Linked DNA regions of Homo sapiens: region 2 is linked to region 1. The links are contacts of gene promoters, found by promoter capture Hi-C in human tissues and cell types (Jung and others, 2019). All regions are on one chromosome and are shown on one strand. The core of a region is centred on a gene start or on the middle of the fragment in contact, and the rest is flanking DNA. Distances in the headings are between cores, read along the strand shown.

What was found. The method cuts DNA at HindIII sites, captures the fragments that hold promoters and counts their contacts. A contact is called where the count stands out against the background at its distance.
Region 2: a contact is called between a fragment that was not itself captured here and the fragment with the promoter of ZBTB5 in region 1, in 1 of the 25 tissues and cell types used here (dorsolateral prefrontal cortex).

What each region holds. Positions count from the first base shown.
Region 1 is chr9:37,464,117-37,466,773 of GRCh38, forward strand. It overlaps ZBTB5 (zinc finger and BTB domain containing 5), which reads right to left and starts at 1,334. Exons shown (of 2, transcript NM_014872.3): 1 at 1,099-1,334. RefSeq lists enhancers at 256-941, 942-1,627, 1,628-2,313, 2,314-2,657 and a silencer at 1,162-1,261. The HindIII fragment of the contact is 10,232 bases long and covers 1-2,657 here.
Region 2 is chr9:36,380,511-36,383,167 of GRCh38, forward strand. All of the region lies in intron 2 of RNF38 (ring finger protein 38), which reads right to left. Among named protein-coding and RNA genes, the nearest start is that of RNF38, 18 kb to the right of the region's middle. The HindIII fragment of the contact is 8,504 bases long and covers 1-2,657 here.

The sequences.
Region 1 (2,657 bases), core at 84-2,583:
AATCACAAGAGTTTAGGCAAATGAAAAGCAAGTTCTGCCCAGCCTTTTACATCTAAGCACAACAGCCCATACTAGGACAACAAATTACCAATGACTTAATGACTAAGGCACAGCATTCTCTTCAACCTCTAAAGAAAAGCCCGTAATGTCCTCTACTTAATACAAGTGAAAAATATGAGAACATGTTTTGGAATATTTTTGCTTCAATTTTTGAAGGTGAAGAGTTCCTTCTATTAATTCAAGTTAACTAGAGTCAGAAGATACTACTTAGTAATCAACTTTACTGTGCTTTCACCTAAAATTTTTCCTCCAAATTATTTAGGATTTGCCTTCTGTTCAGAAAATTAGTTTCCACAATATCCTTCACTATGCCAGAATGCTGACTGACTTAAAAAAAAATGACCATTATGAAAGGAAAAAACTAACCTTCAACACCCCTTAATTCACTGCCTTTTATTATTTACATACAAATCTGTCCTCCAAACAGGAGAAGATGGGACGGCAGTGTCTTACCACCGCATCCCCCACAGCTCCTCGCACGAAGCCTGGGAGTAGTGGGCATTCAATAAATGCCTATTAAACACTTCAGTCCTCTCATAACAAGTTGGGGCATTCCGAAACACTGGCTCCACCCCTCCAGGGTCGGCCGCTGGCTCCCGATGGCAGTCTGCCTATGGCCTTGCTCTGGTGAAATGAAACCTCGTCGCTCAAGACCCAGGATGGGGGCAAGGGAGCCGTCCGACCACATCCCGCAGGGCAGCAGATCCTCTCTTCATCCCGCCAGGCCGCTGGTCCTGAGGCCTTTCCCACCCCATTCGGGAACCTACGTCGCCAGCCGGGGATCCACAGGAGTACCAGCCCCCGCCCCACCCCGCAGACAGCCTGGCGTCGGGACACCGGGGACGCCTGCGCAGAAGAACCCGCCTGGCCCCTTGGCTCCAACGGTAACAATGCTCCCCTCCGAAAGACAGCCAGAGTAGTCCGGGGGCACCAGTACACGTCTGCGCGCTCCCCGACGCCTTGGCGCGCCCCTGGTGCTCAACCTTCCCCACGTGAGCGCGCCCGCCATCACGATACTCGCTGACGGGGTCTCCTCACCTGAGTCGGGCTCCGCCCCCCTCCTCCTCGCTGAAGGAGGCGGTGACCCCTCTCCGATCGGACTCGGCAGTGTCAGAGGAGGTGGGAACGTCCTGACCAGCGTCTCCGTTACGGGACTTCCTCCCCCTTCCACCCGCCCCCCTCCCACCCCGCCTCTAGTCCCCTAGCTCCTCCAGCCAGTTCGCCGCAGCACTCTGAGAACACGGCGGCGGCGCCCGAGGATAAGCGGAAGTGACGTAATGCAAGAGCGCCTACTCCGCCCCATTCCGCCTCTCCCAGTTGGGCTGCAACCAATCAGCAATGGGAAGGGCGGGGCCGGGGTAGGAGTGCAGCCAGCCGGCGCGCGGAACCTGGAGGAATTTACTTAGCCCCCGGAAAAACTGACCAATCCACGGTCCCTGAAGTCTGGTTGTGTTTACTACCGACTGAATCCGTGAGCTCTCTGACCAATCACCCTTTGCCTTACAACATGTAAAACGGTTATCAAATGCCTTTTAGGGCGGGATTTATCACTAAACTGCTCCAGGTTTGGACTATAGAAATGCGGCTGTTCGCTGCAACCAATCAAAACCCTCTGTGGTTTAGGCTAGCGGGCTTTCCGCCTAAATCCGCCAATCACAACAACGACTGCGTGATGTCTGAGGGCGCCGGAGAGGCGGGCCCTCAGGGCAGGCCGTACCGCCATTGGCTGGTTCTGAAGGATTTTTCCACCCTCGTGGTGCCCGGCGCTTTAGTGACCCAGGGCTCTTCTCCGGGGTGAATTCCCTTCGCTGAACACACACACACACACACACGTAGAGGGCTGGAGATTGAGTTCCCACTTCATAGACGTTGGGAAAGATAAGATTCCAAAAAGCTCTTTAGGTTTAACTAAGCCAAAGTCCAGGGTGAAAACCGCGAATAAAAAACGCTGTCCATCGGATGGCAGTTAGGTCGGACCCCGCCCCTCGTCCAGTCCGGGTGGCTGCGCGTCTGGAAACGGTGGCGCCCCAGGAGCCCGGCGCTTGGCCCCGCACTCGGCTGCAGGTCAAATAAGCCTGTAGTCTGCATGCCCAGATTTATAATCACCTGCACTCCCCCCACAAAAAAATAGGAAGCGCTAAGCTCTCCCACTCCTGTCCCAAACGTGGAAGGGTCGCGGACTTGTATGGGACGCGGTCTGAAAAAAGCGAGCCCCGGGGCGACGCTCGGGTTTCCAGGTGCACCCTCGGAGGGAGAACCCGATCCCTGAGCATCGGACACTGGGGCCAGGGAAGAAACCCCCTTTCCTAGGGTGAGGACGGCAGAAGAAAGCTGCCTTCTCCGGCGCAGCGTGTCTGGGAGCGCTGCGTGGCTCTGGAGACAAAGGCAGGCCCGCGAACTCAGCTGGGTTCTTCTGGGGGTGGGGGTAAGGGTCTTGGAGGAGCTCCCAGAAAAATGGAACTCCCAGCCGGGCGCGATGGCTCACGCCTATAATCGCAGCAATTGGGAAGGCTGAGGCGGGCAGATCGCCCGAGATCAGGAGTTCGAGACCAGCCTGGCCAACATGGTGAAACCCTGTCTCTACTAAAAGTACAAAA
Region 2 (2,657 bases), core at 47-2,546, 1.1 Mb before region 1:
TAAAGACAGTCTCACTCTGTCATTGAGGCTGGAGTGCAGTGGCACGATCTCAGCTCACTGCAACCTCCACATCCCGGGCTAAAGAGATGCTCTCACCTAAGTCTCCCAAGTAGCTGGGACTACAGGTGCACACCACCATGACCAGCTAATTAAAAAAAAATTTTGGAGATACAAGGTCTCACTATATTGCCCAGTTTGGTCTCAAACTCCTGGGCTCAAGCAATCCTTCCACCTCGGCCTCCCACAGTGCTGGGATTACAGGTGTTGAGTCATTACGCCTGGCTAACAAACATGCTTTTAAAATGCAGTGCTAAATGCAGGGGAAAAAAGGGAAATCATCAAGGACTCAGAAACTGAGGAAAACTGAAGACCAAATTTGTATTTTTGATGCTCTCAAGAGGAATAGAAGATAAGGCCTTATGACTGAGACCCCTACATGAAGTAGTCAAAATTTCCAAAGTAGTACACTTAAAAAGGAAGACAAGAAAAAGTCATTCCAGTGGAAAAGAGAAGGAAACGTCAATAAGGAAATGTCTGCTCTGTGTTGACTTCGAGTGGAAGTGGGTTTCTCCCGTGAGAATTCAAACTTAGGTTCACTCCTCACACCCTATTTGGGGTTCAGATTTTCACGATCCATGCTGTCTGTGAACCTCTAAACATAAAAACATAAAAACTCATCCAGAACTACGCTACTACAAGGTCTCTTTACATGAGTAAATACAAAACTGAATCTGGAAGGATATTCCCACTGCTTTTGTAAACTAAAAATAAAATCCCCCCCAAATGACTGAACTGACTCTCTCTTGACTACAGAGACCCCAGAGAAACTAGAAAAATTGAGTTCTTGGCCTGGACAGGAAGGAAGACTAGATACACCTCATTTTATCTCTCCATCCCCTGCTTCTGGAGTTTAGGCAAAACTGACCAGCATTAATGTTAAAATAGAAATTATAGGACCTAACAGAATGGACTTTTTGTGACAATAAGATACCAAATTATAAACAGGACCTAAGGCCAAGCCAGACAAGGGTTAACTCACACACCCCTACAGGTCACTCTAACCCAGTGTATTGGTTAACAGACTTTCTTATAAGATTCCCTTCTGCTGAATCCAAATTTTTAGACAAAGCTTTACTCTATAAACCAACTGCAAATTACAGAATCTCATCTCTGAATCCACCTAAAATCTTTAAGTCCTCACTTCAAGATATTCTGTGTCTTTTCGGTTTGAAACAATGTATACTTTCCATGTATTGATTTATGACTTTGTAACTCCTGCCTCCCTAAAACTGTAATTCGACTGTAGTGGGTACATTTCCTTGGGACCTCCTGAGACTGTTTCCCAGACCATGGTCACTCATATTGTCTCAGAATAAACCTCTTTAAAATGTTTTCACAGAGTTGGGTCTTTCCATTAATACCTATGCCAGTAGTTCTCAAACCTTCATGCTTCAGAAACACCAGATTGCTTGCTGGCCTCACTCCCCCGTCTCTAATTCAGAAAGTCTGGACCAGAGGTCCATGAACTGTCATCTCTACTATTATCCCAGGTGATGATGCTTGGATAATTTAGATTTTGAATTATCAGGCAGAGAAGTTCTTTCCCTCCTCTCCTTGTTGATTCTAGGCCAGTGGACCAACTTTTCAAAGTACCAAGTGTTGACAATTTAAAATTCATAAGATGTTGATTCAAATCTGGTACAAGTACTGTCTCTATTATTTAATAATATAGAACGTTGTACAGACATTACAGTATAGAACACTGCTACAGATTTAGGGATCAAGGGAGGTCAAAGAGGTCATAATGGGAGGAAGGAAGGAAAGGCAGGTTTTATGCTTAGCATTAAATCTGATAAAAATGAGTCTAGGAGTACACCTCTATTAACACCAAACCATTTTTATTACCAAAACATCAACAGAAGTGAAATGAACCTGAGGCAGGCATAAGAATGCATTCCATAATTCCAGATGAACAAGTCAGAAGTCATTAAAGGCTAAAGAAAAACAATTTTATATGTAATATATATCTTGGGTTTATATATATATCAGCAAGTCTTAGAGATAATAGGAGATGCTGAGCCAGACAAACTTTTCCCAAAACAGAAACAGGTTTCAAGTTCTACTCAGTGACTACAACATGCCTCTAATGGCAACCACTAGTGAGCCCTAAGGACTTCCTTCCCAAAGCAGCAAAGAGGCAACTTGTGTGGGGAAATGGAATTTCTCAAGAACCTGGTCCTCTTTCTAATCAGTCAGGACTACTCTTCACCTTAGATTTACAAATAAGCACAGCATGAGTTAAGAATCTTCAATTCTCCTTTAAACTCCCAGACTTTCTCTACTTGCCTTAATTACCTTTAACAAAAATGAAGTTTCTTATTCCACAATTAAGGAAAAACAGTTAAATGCAAAGGGCCCAGGAAGAGCAAACTCTCACTAAATTTTATTCATTTTAAATAAATGTGAAAACACTTAGAAATCAACACTCTATATAAGCAACTTGTTACTAAAAAATAAGACAAGATCCTTTTTTGTTTTGCAGAAGATGGATATAAGCTGGGGAAAGCAGAAAATTAAGAATTTTATATTTGGATCACACAATAGTTTACAAAATGACTTCTAACATTACCTCATTTTATTCTCCACAAGCTGAGGTT